Regions from separate parts of the Homo sapiens genome. Here all the other regions are linked to region 1. Evidence: promoter capture Hi-C in 16 types of primary human blood cells and fetal thymus (Javierre and others, 2016). All regions are on one chromosome and are shown on one strand. Each heading gives the region's core, a stretch centred on a gene start or on the middle of the fragment in contact. The rest is flanking DNA. Distances are from core to core; before and after follow the strand shown.

The links. The method cuts DNA at HindIII sites, captures the fragments that hold promoters and counts their contacts. A CHiCAGO score of 5 or more calls a contact.
Region 2: a contact is called between a fragment that was not itself captured here and the fragment with the promoter of TMC1 in region 1, in 1 of 17 cell types (activated CD4 T cells). The highest score is 5.6, in activated CD4 T cells.
Region 3: a contact is called between a fragment that was not itself captured here and the fragment with the promoter of TMC1 in region 1, in 1 of 17 cell types (non-activated CD4 T cells). The highest score is 5.1, in non-activated CD4 T cells.

The regions. Positions count from the first base shown.
Region 1 is chr9:72,520,170-72,522,974 of GRCh38, reverse strand. TMC1 (transmembrane channel like 1) reads right to left here and starts at 1,367. Exons shown (of 24, transcript NM_138691.3): 1 at 1,062-1,367. The HindIII fragment of the contact is 6,235 bases long and covers 1-2,718 here.
Region 2 is chr9:71,795,513-71,798,317 of GRCh38, reverse strand. No RefSeq gene overlaps it. Among named protein-coding and RNA genes, the nearest start is that of CEMIP2, 28 kb to the right of the region's middle. The HindIII fragment of the contact is 1,147 bases long and covers 901-2,047 here.
Region 3 is chr9:73,165,056-73,167,860 of GRCh38, reverse strand. ANXA1 (annexin A1) reads right to left here. Exons shown (of 13, transcript NM_000700.3): 9 at 2,652-2,745; 10 at 1,669-1,764; 11 at 306-364. Among named protein-coding and RNA genes, the nearest start is that of ANXA1, 15 kb to the right of the region's middle. The HindIII fragment of the contact is 701 bases long and covers 1,120-1,820 here.

The DNA.
Region 1 (2,805 bases), core at 118-2,617:
AAGGGGGTTGATACTGTCATCTACTGAGTAGAAGCCAAGGATGCTGCTAAACATCCTACAGTGCACAGGACAGCCCCTCACAAAAAAGGATTATCAGGCCCCAAAGGCCAATAGTGCTAAGGTTGAGAAACTGCACTAGGCTGAGTTCCTTTAAAATATGACCCTATTCAGCGCTGTTCCAGCAGCTCCACAGACAGTGTCCAGTGCCCAGTAGGAAGGAATCCAAACAGTTTTAATATTACATTTGAAATTTTAATTGAAAAACTCTTCTGACAGCTGTATGTTATAACTAATAAGCAATATGACCACATACCACAATTCAAAGGAAAACCAATATCCAGAGGTAAAGGTGGCTTACACCCATCAGTCTTTGACACTTCCTCCTATCTAGTTCTCTGTATTTCTTCCCTTTCTCCTTTTCTCTTGTCCCTGTGCTCACTGTCCCCCTTTACTGTCATGTTTGTTTGAATTCCACTTCAAAATGGGAATTTGAACAGAGTGCAATAAATTGTCCCACATTTGTTTATTTTAGGAAATCATTGCATTTAATTTTAACATTTAAACATATCAATTAGGCCAGGTGCGGTGGCTCACGCCTGTAATCCCAGCACTTTGGGAGGCTGAGGCGGGCGGATCACGAGGTCAGGAAATCGAGACCATCCTGGCTAACACGGCGAAACCCCGTCTCTACTAAAAATACAAAAAATTAGCCGGGCGTGATGGCGGGCGCCTGTAGTCCCAGCTACTTGGGGAGCCGAGATCGCGCCACTGCACTCCAGCCTGGGAGACAGAGCAAGACTCCGTCTCAAAAAAAAAAAAACTTATCAATTACTGGGTGACATGCTGTGCACTGCAAGAAAAACAAAGATAAATAGGAAACTGGGACTATCCTAACTGGGGGAGATTTCTGTAGCAGTAGAAAAGTAGAGGAAATATAGTTTTATTTCACTAATGTGATTAGGGAATATCTCATGGAGAAAGTCTTCGATTTAGGTCTTCACACATGTTTCATAAAGAATGTTAACACACCACACATAGGTAATAATGTTGTCTTTCCTTACCTGGCATCATTATGAGGGCCACTTTTTGGGGCAATGATTCCTAAATTTCAGCAACTCCTGGAGGGCTTGTGAAAGAAAGCACAGATTGCTGGGTTCTGCCCTCATAGTTTCTGAGGCAGTAGGTCTTCGGTGAAATCAGAAAACTGGTGTTTCTTTTTTCTTTTTTTTTTTGTGACGGAGTCTTGCTCTGTCACCCAGGCTGGAGCGCAATGGCGTGATTTCAGCTCACTGCAACCTCCGCCTTCCGGGTTCAAGCGATTCTCCCGCCTCAGCCTCTGAGTAGATGGGAAACAGTCGCGCGCCATCATGTTTTTGTAGAGGCGGGGTTTCACTCTATTGGCCAGGCTGATCTTGAACTCCTGACCTCAGGTGATCCGCCCACCTCAACCTCCTGAAGTGCTGGGGTTATAGGCGTGAGCCACGGCGCCTGTTTGTTTTTTTTTTTCTAATCAGAGGTTTTGCTCTTGTCGCCCAGGCTGGAGTGCAATGGTGTGATCTTGTCTCACTGCAACTTCTGCCTCCCAGGTTCAAGTGATTCTCCTGCCTCAGCCTCCCAAGTAACTGTGATTTCAGGTGCCCGCCACTACACCCGGCTAATTTTTGTATTTTTAGTAGAGGCGGGGTTTTGCCATGTTGGCCAGGCTGGTCTCAAAACTCCTGACCTCAGGAGTTCGGCCTCCGAAAGTGCTGGGATTACAGGCATGAGCCACTGTGCCCGGCCTAGAAAACTGGTGTTTCCAACAAGTCCTTTGGTGCTGCTGGTGCTACTGCGGGCCTTCTGAGGAGACTTTGAGAACCGCTGCATCAGGATTATCAGCCTGGTAACTCCTGGCCGAAGAAATGCACACCCTTCATTTGGCTAAAAGAAAGAATTTCCAATATTCATAAAGAAAACACAACTTGTGGGTTCTCCAAGCAGGAGAGGAAAAATCATGTTCCAGTCTATTCCTGTAACTAATGAAGGGCTCAGGTTTCAAAGGTAAGTTAATTGTCAGACCCACTTTATTGTACCCAGTGTCCTTGGGAAACATAATTATTTATTGGAAATATGTCACAACTAACATAAGTCTTAAAAATTTGTTAAATTAGAAACAAAATATTGTATTTGCTGATATGTTAAAACATAAGGGCCTAACATTTAGAATTGCACTTCTCATACTCACAACATGTACTCAAAATGCTGTTAACATCTACTTTGATGATTGTTTTGGGTTTACTTGAATCTAATGTTTCCATTTAATAATTCCTTTTTTTTCCCCTTTCCTTTTTTCAATCAATCCTTTCTCTTTTCTATGTTCTATATTCATGTTATCTTAGAATTCCATTTTGGCCTTCTAGGTTCTTTACTTCTTCCTCCAGCCTGTCATTTTCATGTCTTCAGTGATTTCTCAGACTTCTCACAGAAAGTTAACCATTTTTGTGCATCTTGAAACTTTTAACCTTTGATTTGAAGATAAATGCTAATAAATAAATATAATTCTTATGAATACATTATGCACAATGTTAAATTCAAAATGACTGACATGTTTCATGCTGTGTGCTATAGATATGCTAAACTTCATTTCAAACAGACTAAATAAAACACATGGAACTACATGCACTTTTTGTGAACAGCATCTTCATACCTGTTGTTTGTTAATGTCAGCAATTATAAGCTTATAGGTGTGTTTTTCAAGTGATCACTGAAAATAAATGTAGTATGTCTATTGGCAGAACCACTCACACCTACTAATTATTTGAAAAA
Region 2 (2,805 bases), core at 225-2,724, 720 kb after region 1:
TTATTATTTGCCAATTAAAACATTTAAAAGGCTGGGCACAGTGGCTCATGCCTATAGTCCCGGCACTCTGGGAGGCCAAGGAGGGAAGATTGCTTGAGTCCAGTTAAGGACAGCTGGACAGCTTGGGCAACATAGTGAGACCTCATCTCTACAAAAATAAATAAAACTCTTTGGGCATGGTGGCACATACCTGTACTCTCAGCTACTCAGGAGGCTGAGGTGGGAGGATCATTTGAGCCCGGGAGGTTGAGGCTGCAGTGAGCCGTTGATTGTACCACTGCATTCCACCCTGGGTGACAAAGCAAGACCCTGTCTCAACAACAACAATGGCAACAATAACAGCAACAACACAATTTGAAAAGAGAAAACAAGTGAGACTAAGATGAACCATAAACAGGCGTTAGTTTTATTAGTATTGGGTAGCTGACCAAAGTATTTGCTGTGCTGATACATAAATAATGCCCTATGAGAGGATTCTTTTCTGCTGTGCAAATCAAATTCAAGAAACGTGCCAGAAGAAACAGCACAGTGTAGACTGAGTTGCACAGTAGTTCCTTCGCAATGCTGAAGTGGGTAGAGTAGACCAATTTATTGATTTATTTTTAGACAACATGTTTATCTTTTTGTATTTGTGCTTTAATACAGTTAAGAGAGCCAATAAATAGTTGTCATGGGTAGCCTGGTTTTAGGTCTAAAAGTCTCACAGATACACATATCTTATCTCTTGATTCATTTTGACCTGATAGCCATGTCAGGGATTTTTTCCCATGTGAAGCTACTGAAGTGAAAATAGCTGTATATCCTGTAGACACTTGGAGGGCTGTGATTCAGGGGAAGAATCTTCCCATTTCCTCCTATGAAGAGATGGAAAGAGGAAGGCTTGCATCTCATACAGAAGCTTTGATGGATTACTCATCTCGTGCTTTCCTTGGTGTCTGTCCTTGGGACATTTTTTCACATCAGGTCAAAGTCAAAACCAACAATCACACAAAGAAACTAACAGAGACAACTACATAGATGAACATCCTTACTTTTCCTTTATAAATCTTTTAGAAATGAAAAATACTGAGATTATAAACCACCATCCCCAGTAAAAATTCTCAGCACTGAGGCCCTAATGGGCTTCCCTTTGATGCAGGGCAGGTAAGCCCCAAAGCTGGGGCTTAGCCAGCGAGAGTTCTTGCCTTGCCTTTGCCCAGGAAAGAATTCAAGAGCCAGCTGGTCATGTTAGAAAGCACCTTTTTTTTTTTTTTTTTTTGAGACAGAGTCTCAAAGGCTTGGGTGCAGTGGCATGGTCACAGCTCACTACAGCCTCAACCTCCCAGGCTCAAGTGATCCTCCTACCTCAGCCTCCTGAGTAGCTGGGACCACAGGTGCATGCCACCATGGCTGGCTAATTTTTGTATTTTTAGTTGGGACAGTATTTTGCCATGTTGCCCAGGCTGGTCTCAAACTCCTGGGCTCAAGTGATCCGCCCACGTCAACCTCTCAAATTGCTGGGATTACAGGCATGAGCCACTGCGCCTGGCCTAGACAGCAACTTTTATTGAAGCAGCAGTGTACAGCAGCAGCAGAGGTACTGGTTCTGTGGAGAAGGCCACCCCACAGGCAGTGTGCCCAGAGTGGCAGCTCAGAGGCAGTTCTGCAGTCATAGTTATACCCACTTTAAATTACATGCAAATCAAGGGGTGGATTATGCAGAAATTTCTAGAAAAAGAGTGGTAACTTCTGAGTCATTGGGTCATTGCCATGGAAAGGGGCAGAAATCTCTGGGTGTTGCCATGGCAATGGTAAACTGACATGGCACTCTTGTGGGCATGTCTTACAGAGAGGTATTTTTATCTCTTCCCTGTTTTAGCTAGTCCTCAATCTGGTCCAGTTTCTGAGCATCACCTCCAGAGTCCCACCTCCTATCTCACCTTGTAGACAACATTTCACATGTGTTGTCACAACTCATTGCTGGAGGAATCAAGCATGTCCTTTGGGACTCTACTGGGAGGGGACTGTACTGGGAGGGGACCGTACTGGGAGATGGCTCTTGGAAGCTTGTGCTTGGTTACTTCTGGACCTCGCCCATGTGCCTTTTCCCTTTGCTAATTTTTCTTTGCATCTATTTACTGTAATAAATTTTAGCCATGAATGTCATTATATTTAGATTTCTAGCAAATCACTAACCTGGGAGTGGTCCTGTAGATCCCTGACACAGCCTCCTTTACTAGATTTTTCTAAGTATTAAGTGTGATTATATTGGCATTATATTATAATAATAAGTAATTAATAATAAACACTAATAAATGAAAGATAGCAAAATTACCTTATGATAACATGGAAAACTTGAGTCATATGCTAAAGGACATGAGATGGAAAAAGAGCATTAGCCAAGCCTGAAATTTTCTGCACATTTTCCAAAGTGGATTTTTAAAAAATAACCGCAAATAAGTGCAGAGCTTTTTTTTACACTAGAACAATTAGGATGCCTTATTATTGTCTGAACTCTTCTGCTTGCTTGAGTCAATGAAAACTTTACACATATTGGCTAGATATATTCTCAGATATCTTCTGCATGTAAGCAAAGGGGAGAAATATTGTGCCGTTCTGAGCCTTTGAGAAAATTTGCCTTACCCACTTCCTGTGTTTAAAGAAAGGCAATGTATTAATATCTGGCAAGAGCACATTTGAGATCGAGACAAGAAGACAACAGGATGTACTTTCTTCTTGTCAAGATAGAACTTCATGCCTGGCTAATCAACTAGAAAGTCTGATTTTTGCATGCCTCAGGAAAAAGCAATCATAGGTGGTTTTGAG
Region 3 (2,805 bases), core at 221-2,720, 640 kb before region 1:
AAAATTACACGTTAAAAAAGAAAGTACATCACCCTTCCCGTGGTGACACATGTTTTAAGCAAATCACAAGTGAGCCGTAAATCACTTACAGGCTCACTTTACAATCTCATCTGTAAAAAAAAGCACCGAATCTAACAGAAGTTTATTCTGAGAAGGTAGTGTATTACCTCTTTCATCAAATAGAACAATGATTCTCATTAATGGGAAGATATTAAATGTGAGATTTTCAAACAACATGAGGTTTTCTGTTCTTTCTACAAATAATTCTTCCTCTAAGCAGGACATATAAGTAGAATGGTACATACTTTCATGGCTTGATGAAGCTTCTCTGCAAAGAAAGCTGGTTTGCTTGTGGCGCACTTCACTGTTAGAGAAGAAAATTTTAGTTGATGTATTTACCATGAAAAAAATGAAATATCCATATGAAAGAAACAGGAAATATAGAATTTTGCCAACAGTGTTCTATCCCTCATCATCATTCTTCACCTCTCATCTCCCAATATAGGGCAGTTAACTTCTGAGAAGGTATTTGTGACTCTCTAGATGGTGGTTTTGAATATTCTTTTCCCTGACGATCAATTTTTTTATTACCTTAAATACATCTCAAGAGCAACTTCAGTAGTTTGCGCTATCCAACATATATTCTCCTTGGGAGTGGAGAAGCCACTAGGTGTTCAAGCCTATGTAAATACTTTATTTATGTTACTATAAGAACATTTAAAAAGAACACCCTATGAACAACAGACACTGCAGACTACTAGAGAGGGCAGGGAGAGAAGGGGCATTGGTCAAAAAACTACTTATTGGGTACTATGCTCACTGCCTGAGTGCAGAACACCCATGGAACAAACGTGCACATGTACCTCTGTGTCTAAAGTAAGAGTTGCACAAACAAATAAGTAAAAATAAATGAATAAATGAAGAAAAAACTCTGGGATAGGATGGGCTTAAATATAAAACAGAACCCAAATAATACTAGCACATTCCAGTTCATAGTGTTCTTCATCTTGTCGAGATCTATGGACCAACAGCATTGGCATCAATGGGGAGCTTGTTAGAAAAGCAGAATCTAAGCTCCACCCCAGACCTGGGGAATCAGAATCTGCATTTTAACAAGCTTTCCAGGGGATTCAAGTGCATAGTCATGAATGAGAAACACTGCTTGAGAACATAGGTTCCCCAACCCTGATGGTTGTCTGAATAACCTGGGAGATCTTTAAAAAGTACCGATTTTTAGAGGCCAACTCGGACCCACTGAATCAGACTCTCCTGGACCTGCCCAAGATTGTACAATTAACAAGCAGTAGACCAGGACTTGAAGTTACATTTATCCAGATGTTACATTTATTCCAGATCCCATGCTCTCAGTGACCATTCTGAATTGCCTCTGTGGTGTGCCCAGCCTGGTACATTGTTTGATATAAGTAGGTGCTCAATAAGTATAGTCTATCTCTCTCTATTTTTGAAAAGGGGAATAATATCTATTGTTATTAAGGTTATAGTACTTTGCCAATCTTTTACGTTGCTTCAATTGAAACAGATGCACTACTTCTGATTGTTTTTTGTTTTCTTTTATTGGTTTTGTTGCTGTTGTTCTTGTTAAGTATAGGATAGCTTTGAAAATACAATTTCTAGTTAGAAAACTCTTTCAACTGCTGGACTACATACCGATAGCTGTGAGGCATTTCTCAATGTCACCTTTCAACTCCAGGTCCAGAACTTTGTTCATGTCATGCTTACTGTACTTGGTGTATTTCTGAAACACTGAATATTAAATTCAAACTAAGATACATGCAAAACATCCTTTTCTTTAGAAAGCTTTAGCAAAATCAAGGCAACTGACTCAAAGAATTTTTTAGAATAACAACTTTGGCTACACCTTTTAAAGCAATATACCCAATTAATCATAACGTGAATACTTCATCCTCTCCTAGGAATGTAACTTACCTGGCCATTTTGGTATTCCTATATATTTTGGCGAAATGTTTGCAAATGTTGACAGTTATTAGAAACGGCATGTGATTGACAACTATAGCACTTCCTACAGCAGTTCTAAGAGCCACAGCAAATGGATCTTCCCTTATATAAAGACCTGTGCACTAAATTTCTCTTACATTTAACAGTAGAAATCAGTATACTATTATAAGATGGTGAACTTTGGTAATTGTCATAACTTTTCCATCGCCTTCACTTCCAAGAGGCCCAGAGCTAAATCTTGCACTCAAAGGCCAGGACTTTTTCTGAGTTTTGTCTTGTTGTTGTTTTTCCAAAGCACCTACATATTTCTTTCTTCATTTAGCTCTGAGGGTTTTTTGTTTTTTTTTTTTTGTTTTTCTTCATTCTAATTTCATTTGTTCTGTTATGCATGTCTTTTCCCACACATATTCCAAATCTTTTAGGGGAGTAAAAGCAGTGAAAATAACAAAATTATGTTCCACATGCCCAAGTCACAAAATGTATTAAATATGATAAAGTAGCGGCTGTACAAAATTGGACAAATTGACAAATAACAATGGGTCAGGAACACTGTATCTGTTTGATACAGGAGTGATATTGAAAAAGGGTTCTGTTTTTACTTTCTCTTATTTGTCATCAAAAAAGAAAATTGCATCTTCCATAAACAGATTCCAGAAAAAGAAATTTATTGTTACCTCTGCGAAGTTGTGGATAGCTTCTGGTGGTAAGGATGGTATTGAACACGTTTACGTCTGTCCCCTTTCTCCTTTCTCCTGCTTCATACAAGGCCTGTCAAGAAACACAAAAGTAAACACTTCACTATCTGCTGAAATGATATCTGCACAATAA